Linked DNA regions of Homo sapiens: all the other regions are linked to region 2. Evidence: promoter capture Hi-C in 16 types of primary human blood cells and fetal thymus (Javierre and others, 2016). All regions are on one chromosome and are shown on one strand. The core of a region is centred on a gene start or on the middle of the fragment in contact, and the rest is flanking DNA. Distances in the headings are between cores, read along the strand shown.

What was found. The method cuts DNA at HindIII sites, captures the fragments that hold promoters and counts their contacts. A CHiCAGO score of 5 or more calls a contact.
Region 1: a contact is called between a fragment that was not itself captured here and the fragment with the promoter of SLC25A33 in region 2, in 2 of 17 cell types (fetal thymus and erythroblasts). The highest score is 7.1, in fetal thymus.
Region 3: a fragment that was not itself captured here is called in contact with the fragment with the promoter of SLC25A33 in region 2 in 3 of 17 cell types (endothelial precursors, fetal thymus and megakaryocytes); the score reaches 6.9 in endothelial precursors.

The regions. Positions count from the first base shown.
Region 1 is chr1:9,271,464-9,274,849 of GRCh38, reverse strand. No RefSeq gene overlaps it. Among named protein-coding and RNA genes, the nearest start is that of SPSB1, 20 kb to the left of the region's middle. The HindIII fragment of the contact is 8,208 bases long and covers 1-3,386 here.
Region 2 is chr1:9,537,740-9,541,048 of GRCh38, reverse strand. It overlaps SLC25A33 (solute carrier family 25 member 33), which reads right to left and starts at 1,584. Exons shown (of 7, transcript NM_032315.3): 1 at 1,302-1,584. The coding sequence starts at 1,357. RefSeq lists enhancers at 729-858, 1,525-1,819 and silencers at 929-1,288, 1,309-1,828. The HindIII fragment of the contact is 15,144 bases long and covers 1-2,632 here.
Region 3 is chr1:9,252,453-9,255,563 of GRCh38, reverse strand. The region is part of intron 3 of H6PD (hexose-6-phosphate dehydrogenase/glucose 1-dehydrogenase); the gene reads right to left. Among named protein-coding and RNA genes, the nearest start is that of H6PD, 19 kb to the right of the region's middle. RefSeq lists an enhancer at 2,538-3,097. The HindIII fragment of the contact is 1,725 bases long and covers 403-2,127 here.

The DNA of each region.
Region 1 (3,386 bases), core at 786-3,285, 270 kb after region 2:
GTAGTCCCAGCTACTTGGGAGGCTGAGGCAGGAGAATCACTTGAACCCAGGAGGCAGAGGCTGCAGTGAACCGAGATCGCACCACTGCTCTCCAGCCTAGGTGACAGAGTGAGTAATCTCAAAAAAAAAAAAAAAAAAAAAAAAAAATCCAGAGTTGGAAGCCAGGAAATGGGAAGTGATGGAGAATCAATGTCCGTATTTGTCAAAGTCAGTAGACACCCCCAATCAAAACTGATTCAGGGAGTTAAAAATCACATTAAAATTCATTAAGGACTTCAGACTTAATGTTTTTCCATAAACTACTTTTTTTTTTGAGACAGAGTCTCGCTCTGTCCCCCCAGGTTGGAGTGCAGTGGCGTGATTAGAGCTCATTGCAACCCCCACCTCCTGGGTTCAAGCGATTCTCCTGCCTCAGCCTCCCCAGCAGCTGGGATTACAGGCACCTGCCACCACGCCCAGCTAATTTTTGTATTTTTAGTAGAGACGAGGTTTCGCCATGTTGGTCAGGCTAATCTCGAACTCCTGACCTCAGATAATCTGCCCGCCCCGGTCTCCCAAAGTGCTGGGATTACAGGCGGGAGCCACCGCACCTGGCTTTTCATACACTTCTAATGTTAAAGAGACCTTTTGGGAAATGATATTGATTGTGTGACAAAATATATTTCTGAATGGAATGAAATTCCTTCAGTTTCTAGTAAAATTATTAATGCACTATTATTTATTAAGTATTAAGATTAAAATTAGCATCAAGAGGAGGATCCCATTTTTACGAAATATTTTGAATCTTCTATTTGCATCCGTGTCTTGAAGGATGTGCACCCGTTGTTACTGTTGTTCGTTTCTGGAGGGCTGGACGACAGTGATTTTCTTTACACACATTTGTGTACTTTTCTGCACTGTTTCAATGCATTTGTAACAAGCATGTGTGATTTTTACAAAAATATGTGTGTCCAGGTTTTTGCCATCAAAAAATATATATATTTTTTTCTTTTAAAAAAGCAAATATAAAAAGGCCTCATACAGTGAATGCTGAAGGGGGCAATCTCCATGGATTAATATTCTCATCCGAGTGCTTACTGTATTTTATTTTTTTCAGTAAAAAAATAAAGACATACGGAGTAGGAGGAGGGCCTGACTGATAGCATGAGCTTAGTTTGATAATTTTTCCTCCCAACGATGCTTCTTCAGACAAACAGAACTCATGAGGCTGGGTTTCCGCAGCCAGTGAGTGGGGACGGGGGAAAGGAAAGGGCTGTAGTGAGACCTCTCCAGGGGGACAGAGCAGCCCTAAGCTGTTGGGGGCCCCCCTGGCTGCCATCCCTGCTGCAGCGTCCAGCAGTGGGCGCTGACCGTGGCTTTGCTCTCCATCAGCAGCCAGTGGGAGCTGTCAGGAGCGGGGGTCAGACCTTGCCCTGCTTCTGCGTGGCCCTATCCCACGGTGCCAACAAGCGTGGTGGCCTGCCATGGCTGGACCACATCCATTGCACCCCTAGGCCCTGGCCACTCTGGGCACAGGAGACCCATGTGCTTAGACCCTCCCTCCCCTAGAGAGGATGACACGTGCCAGGCTCACCGCTGGCCCCACACCCGCTCAGGCCTCCACCCCTCCAGCCGCCTTGCTGACCACTCTCTTTCCTTATTGCCATTCACTCATTCATTCACTCACACATTCACTGCAGGGCGGCGTGTAAAGTGCCAGAAACACGAAAAGGAGCAGAATGTATGGAGTCTCTGCCTTCGTGGTCCTCAGCCCGACAGGTGAGTGGGAAGATGGGGGTAAGAGAGGGCATGGGTGGAGCCGCATCCCCTCCCCTTCTGCTGGGAGCTGGGTGGCGAGGGGCAGCTGGCTGACCCCACCCGGGCTCTGGCTGTCTGTAAAGAGCTTGTAAGAGACCCTGGAGAAGGTGGACTCAGGCTGGCAGCTCCTGAGCTTGTCTTCACCACGGCTTCTTTTATGATTTGCGCAACTCTTCCCCTCCTGCCCTTCCATCTGTCCCTGCATCTCCAAAACTATGGTCTATCAGGAAAACAGTTCCAATTAAGCAAGAAGAAACTGATGCTGCACAGCAGGGGCCACCCAACTGGTGTTGCCACACTGGACTGCTGAAACCCTGACCCCAAACAGAAGGATCTGTCCTCTTGGTTCATGAGAATCACCTTCTTACTTAGGTCAGTGTGGGGTTTCTGCTGGGCTTCCGGAAATACATAACAAAGCTACTAGCTCCAGTATCTATTAAGTTCTGCTGCTACAAGGTAGTTTAGGCACCCAGAAACGAGGCCCGCAGGCTGACTTCAGGAGACTGGAATCAGGTCCCAGAGACAGCCCCCGAAGTGGGATCCTGGGGCTCTCCTCTCCTCCATGCCAGCCTTGTCCTTAGGCCTCCGTGGCGCTGAGATGGCTGCTGCAGCTCACCAAGGCCTGAGTCCAGAGAAATGGTGCCGCTTCAGCCTGAGTCCTCGGGGTCACTCTGATTTGACCAGTTTGGGCCCTGAGCCCTCCCAGATCCCATTGCTGCGGCTGTGGGCATTGGATGTCCTGATCGGCTAGCACTGGGTCACACGCCCCATGCCTGCCATCGGAACTCCCCAGAACACATGTATGGGAGGGTCCCCAAACGGGGGCTGGACACCAGGTGACCCTCCAGTGCAGCCCTCACAGACGCTGGCTGGGTCCCACAGTCCTGCCCCGCCATGTTTCTGTGAGGACTGTGGAACCAGCAGCCATCACCACAGAGAAGCAGGGAGGGGACGCCCTGGGCTACCCCCCGGGAAGCAGCAGATCCCCCGCGCGCCTCCCATCTGAGGGACAGGCAGGGACGGTCACTGCAGCTCTGGTTTCTGGCCTTCGTGACATCTTCCCTTGCAGGCTCTGGGCATGTCTCACCCGTCTCTGTCCCCTCTGCCATGGGGTCCCTGCCCAGAGCTCACCTATTTCGAATGTGTGCGCTGCTCCTTTTGCCACCTTGTGATGTCACCAAGCCTGTGTGGGTCCTGCATGCTGTTGGTGACAACCTGCAAATCTCTAACTTCTGTACCTCAAGTGGTCCTGAAATCCTATTTGACTTCCCCAAAACACTTACATTCCTGGGAGTGTGACACAGCTTGGAGGTAGGACTCAGGCAAGGGACAGGAGAGAAGACAAATGAAGGCATCAGGCTCTGGTGTCCTCAAAGACCCTCCCCTCCCGATCTCCCACTCAGGGGTGAGCTCCTTCCCCTCCAGTGGGCTGCCGGGAAGGTTGGGGGACTCTTCCTAGACTGCTTGGGAGTCTATGAAATGAGATCATCCTGCCCACTGCTCTCTCTCCCATGAGGCCCACAGACCCTCTTGCAAACGGAATGCACTGGCTTGCTCAGTCAGACACACTTACACTCGCAACAGGCACG
Region 2 (3,309 bases), core at 335-2,834:
AAGATCGCACCACTGCACTCCAGCCTGGGCGACAGAGGAAGACTCCCTCTCAAAAAAAAAAAGGAAGTCTCAATGGAGACATGGAGGGAAGGGTTGCAAGGGAATGAATGACAGGGAAGAGATGAATGAGAAACTCTTCCAATCTATGAAGACCCACCGAAGTTTTTGGTTAAAGTAACCTGGTGACTGCCCACAATACAAGTACAAAAAAAGCTCAGGGACGCTTTCATCAGTCATCTTCCAAGATAAGTTTCTCAACCATTGTTTGTTGTAAGGAACATATCCAGGTAGGAATCCAGGCTGCAACTACTCAAGCCAAGATGATCATCCCAGAATAAACTATTTTATGCAAAATATCCTACACTCAAAAATTCCTGTGCCAGGCCGATGAGGTCCTCAAATTAATACTCCAAATATCTGTAAGACTCCGAAAGGACCCCAAGCCACCGGCTGTGATAAAGGAAAAAAGAAAATTACTAATACTCAAAAATATTTTACCTTCTATTCTCGGCGGGAGGTGACAAGGGGAGGTGGCGAGGGGTACCATCTCCCTTCCTAACCGCAGAACTCAACCTCCTAAAAATGCATTGTCTCCGCTGGAAAAAAGGTGCCTGACCATAGACCTAATGCAGCTTTCAAAACAAGGAACACCTTACAATTCTGCGGTCTCTGGCGTTGGAAGCGTCTACCAGCCGGCGAGAAGTGTCTCAACACACCTTCCAGACCTCATATGAGTTCGGGTCCCTGGCTTAGCCACCCCGCGTGTGGCCGCAAGCATCACCGTTCACCAGCACCACCCAGGCCTTGCTGACGTCCAACGTCCGCAGACCTTTTTGCCCGTCCGGATGACCTCCCGCGCTGCCCTGAGGAACCTCGGGCACACCCGAGCATCAGCGATCCTACCACGGGCTCTGAGGCGCTGCGCTTCGGGAGAGGCCCCAGGAGAAGGGGGCGGGGGAGGGGGGGCCGCGCCACAGCGTCCAGGCTGGACCGCCGCCGAGCACCACTCACCGGCCACTGACTCTTCAGAATGGGGAAAAGCTGGGGACGCCGCGGGGAGGACGGGCGGCGGGGCACAGCCGCCCTCGGGGCTGCGGTCAGGACGTAGGGGTGAGGAAGGCCCGACCCCCTCCCTCGGCCCTGCCCACCAGTCCCCGACGCCGGGACTTCCTCCTCCCGAGCGCCGGCGCCGTAGCCCGGGGAAGGCCGGTAACCGCCGCGGGAGGCTGGGGCCGCGCCCGGGGCGAAGGCCGAGGGGACCGCAGGCGGTGGGGCGCGCGCGGCTGGGCCCGGGAACTCACCCGCCGGCGAAGAGGTGAAGCAGCGTGTTCTCCTTCTGCTGGCCGCCCGTCGCCATGGCCGCGCCGGCTCCGCGGCCCGTCGCCGCCCGGTGGCGAGAGCGCGTGGCGGCTCGAGGGATGCGCGAGGTCGCCGGGTCTTGTCTCCCCGCTGCCCTCAGGGGGCTGCCGGCAACGCCTCCATGCGCGCGCGGGCTCCAACGCCCGGCTCTGCTCGGCCCGCGCCTTCCGCGGCGTGGCCGCCGGCGCCTCACCGGCCTCTGCGGCGCGAGCCCGGCGGGGAGCTAGAGCCCGGCGCGCGGCCGTCACGTGGCGGGGGCCGGACCGTGACGTCACGGGCGCGCGAGTCTGGGGCGGGGCGTGACGGGGGTGTGGACCCAAATTTCGAGCGCTCATTGGTTAGGACGCGGATGTGGGCGGGGAGGTTGCGCAGTTCTGGGGCGGAGCCAGCCCCGAGCGAATGACTGGGGAGAGGGGCTGGCCTAGGCCGGAGCGTGGAGGCAGTGGAAACTGGCTGTGACTGACTGGTCCTCGCTCCTCAGAGAAGCCTCGCGAGGCCCTAGGCCTTGCCTTATTTTAAAAGTTTACTTTGTGATATTTACGTGTGCAAAAGGTGTACAAATTACGTGTTACATCTCACACCTCTGTACTCACCACCCCGTTTAGGGAAACAAAAACATAATCTAAAAATCTATAATCTAAACAGCCTTAGATAATCAGTGAGGCCCTCACGGTGGCTCACGCCTGCAATCTCAACACTTTGGGAGGCCGAGGCGGGCGGGCGGATCGCCTGAAGCCAGGAGTTACAGACCAACCTGTCCAAGACGGCGAAACCGTGTCTCTACTAGAAATACAAAAGTTAGCCGGACGAGGCGGCGCACCCCTGTCATCCCAGCTACTTGGGTGGCTGAGGCTGGATAATCGCTTGAGCCCGGGAGGCGGGGGCTGCAGTGAGCCAAGATCTTGCCACTGCACTCCAGCCTGGACGACAAAGCGAGACTCTGTCTCAAATAATTAATAATCATTATCATTATGTGGATTTTTGATCTCCCTATAAGTAGTAGTATATGCTGCGTATATTTTGCAGTATGCTTTTTGCTTCTTTTCTGATCATCTCCAGCCCAGACCTAGATATCCAAACTGCTTCTCTCAGCCTATGTCACTGGGTCATTGTCATACTCAACCTGACATCTTCTAATCTCCAGGTCTCCCCCAGATGGAGACTTTCCTGGCCGCCTTTGCAGCGCAGTCTGTCACACGACTATAGAACCAGGGCTTCTGCAGTTAGTTTGTTGATTTATTTAAGTTGTCCTTCCCATACAGGAATGTAAGCTTCAGGAGAGCAGGGACCTTATTTCTTTTGTTCACAGTTGTTCCTGACACAGTACCTGCCACCTAGTAATGCCCAAGGAGCTAATGAATAAAGGTCCCAAATTGAACTTATCATTCTTCCCCTCCCCCAAACCTGCTCTACCTCTATTTCCTGTCCTGGCAGTGACACCACTGACTGCACAGGCACCAGTGCCAGAAGCTTTCCTGTTACCTTGGACTATGTCTCTCTGTCTGTCTCTCTCTCAGCAGACCACCATTCACCTGCAGAACGTACCAACCCTTTCTCTTCCGTCTCTCAGAGCTCCGGAAAGCTGTACCTTGACCAGAACAAGCAGTTAGATGTCCTGTGTGTAAACATAGAGAGCTTAAGTAGGAGGGAATTGTGTGGAAACGTGGGAGCTAGCCAGCCAATCTGTATTTGATTGCTGGGACTCTTTAAATAAAAACAGCTCTTAGGAGCAGTCCTCCAAAATGCAAATACAGTGGTTACTATTAAAGCCATTGCTCCCAGGCCTAGGAGAAGGGGAAGCCATACTAGGGCATGAGATATCTGAGAAAAAGAAGTAAAGAAAACCCAGCACAGTGGCCCACTCCTGTCATCCCAGCACTTTGGGAGGCTGAGAAGAGTGGATGACTTGAGTCTAGTAGCTCAAGACCAGCCTGGATAACGTGGCAAAAC
Region 3 (3,111 bases), core at 16-2,515, 290 kb after region 2:
ATGCTTGTAATCCCAGCACTTTGGGAGGCTGAGGTGGGCAGATCTCCTGAGTCCAGGAGTTCAAGACCAGCCTAGGCAACATGGCAAAACCCCATCTCTACAAAAAATACAAAAATTAGCTGGGCATGGTGAAATACACCTGTGGTCCCAGCTACTTGGGAGGCTGAGGTGGGAGGATCACTTAAGCCTAGGAGGTCGAGGCTGCAGTGGGCTATGATTGCACCACTGCACTCCAGCCAGGGCGACAGATAAAGACCCTGTCTCCAAAAATAAAAAATAAAAAATAAATAAATAAATAAGAGTTATTGGCCTCAAACAGTTAAACAGAGTCATGATCCTCCAGCAACCCCACTCCTGGGTTTATACTCAAGAGAAATAAAAATGCAGGTCCACACAAAAGCTTGTACATGAATGCTCATTGCAGCATTATATATAACAGCCAAAAAGTAGAGGCAACCCAAATGTCCACTAACTGGTGACTGGATAAATTATGGTATATCTATACAATAAGATATTATTCAGCAGTAAAAAGAAATGAAGTGCTGGTACATGCTAGAACATGGGTGAACTCTGAACTCAGGATGCTAACTGATGGAAACCACACACCGTATGATCCTATATGTACAAAATATCCAGAACAGGCAACCCCGCAGAGAGAATGCATTTCTGTGGTTGCCAGGAGCTGGGGAGAGGGGGAAATTGTGGGATGACAACGAAGGGGTACAGGGCTTCCTTTGCCGTGATGAACATGTCCTAAAATTGATTGTGGTACTGACACACAACTCTGTGAATACACGAAAGCTCACTGGCCTGTCCACCTTAACTGGGTAAAGTGTAGTAGGATTTGTGAGTTACAGCTCAATAAAACTTTTTAAAAAAGGTTTTAGAACAGGGAAGCAGAAGCACGAAAGAGGTACTTCAGGAAGATGAAGCTGTCTGCGACCTCCAAGATGAACAGGATGGGACTGGTGGTAGTGAAATCAGTGAGGCAGCCTTTGCTGCCATCAAAGGAAGTAACAAAGGTAGGAGGGAACGAAGTCACAGTGAACTGCAAAGAAGTTATTATAGCAGATGAATACAAACTACTTGGTGACTGGCTGGATCCTTGAATGGTGGTACAGAGCTGTGATCTGGAGTGTGGTCTCTGGAGCCAGGCTGCTCCAGTTTATTTTATCTTATTTTATCTTATCTTATTTTGTTTTATTTTATTGGAGATGGAGTCTCCCCATTACCCAGGCTGCAGTGCAGTGGCGCGATCTTGGCTCACTGTAACCTTCGCCTCCTGGGTTCAAGCAATTCTCCTGCCTCAGCCTCCCGAGTAGCTGGGATTACAGGCACAAACTACCATGCCTGGATAATTTTTGTATTTTTAGTGGAGATGGGGTTTCACCATTTGACCAGGCTGGTCTTGAACGCCTGACCTCAAGTGATCCACCCGTCTCGGCCTCCCAAAGTGCTGGGATTACAGGTATAAGCCCCCGTGCCCAGCCTGCCCCGGTTTAAATACCGGCTCTGCCATCTTTCAGCCCTGTGATCTCCAGCAACTGACATCACCTCACATACGAACAAGCAACAATCCCCGCACCTCCCTTACAGGGCTTCTGTGGGCCTGAAGGAGTTAATATCCACACAGGGCTTGGAACAGTGGCTAGCACACAGGAAACACTGATAAAGACTGGTTGGAATTTTTCTTATGACAGATGCTGTAAGAGAAGGGCTACCAGCCTGGTCACTCAGAGAGCACTGTTCCCATTTGAAATAAAGAGGTTAGAAAACACAGTTGGTATTTCATGAGAAAAATGCAGTGATGGTTTTCATTCTAAATCTGCTGAATCTGAAGGGATGGTGCAACACCCCATGAAATGATCTAAAAGGCGGCTGGAGGTATAAACTAGGGCCTGGGGAGACAACGCACACTGGAGATAAACTGGATTTCATCAAACCTGAAATGCCATCAGTGGCGGAAGCATCGCTGTTTTATAACCCCTAAGAAAGAAAAGGGTTTCCAGTTCCACTATGTCACCCTATTAAGGATAAACCCAACTTCAGAGACGTCCAAATATGAAAAAAATGTCTTCCAATCAATGAATTACAGTGGATTTATATGTCAACAGCATACTTAAAGCTTTAAAAACAGATGAATTTTTGATGAAGGGAACACAACAGAGTCCCTAAAAGCCCTGTTATCTGCTTACTATTCATTAATGTAGCGAATCCCTAAGCGGCCCCTTTCCTATTTTTATCCTCTCTCAATTCTCAAAAAGAATGCATTCCACGGGTTTACTACCTGCTGGGTAAAAGAGAGCTTCCTTTATTCCTTAATTTCAAGCTTCAGGGGGTGCGCCTGTGTTTAACACGGCCTGTAGATTTATGGACTTTGCCTGGTTGGCTCCGTCTTTTCAGAGTTTAATGCAGTGACTGGGACTGTGGCCTGGCACCTCCCTGGGAAGAGGCCATGCAGCTGAGTGCAAGGACAGGAGGCGAGGGGCTGGCCCTCCTGCTGATGTTGATCTTTTCTAGTTACTGCCCGTTATTGTGGACTGATTTCTCCTAAAAATGATCTATATTGGCTCCTAGTGTATTTTCCCGGGTTGAAAGTTGAGGGTTGAAACCCATCAGTATATGAAAAGGATAGAGAAAAGCACAACCAGGGTGGACACTGGGAGGAAAGACCCCCTGTAAACTTGGCTCCCACCTGTGCACATCCAGAGCTCGTCCAAGGTCAGAGGATGACAAAGCAGGGGGGCCATGGCTGTGCCCGCCAGCTGTGCTGCTCAGACTCATAACAGAGAGTAACAGCTAGAAAGCACTTCTCCCCTTTGGCCCCGTCATTCTACTGCCGAAGTATATACTTAAAGGGAATATGTTTTTTAAAATGCTCATAAATGTTCTCGAATTAGATAGTAGTTGCATAACTTTGTAAATATACTAAAAACCACTTAATTTTATATTTTAAAAGCGTAAATTTTGTGGTATGTGCATTGTATCTCAATTTTAAAAAAAGCTCACAAAGTACCATCTAAGATAGAAGCCGGGGAGGTGGGGCACTCCTGTAGTCTCAGCTATTTGGGAGGTTAAAGCAAGAGAGGATCACTTGAGACCAGGCGTTCA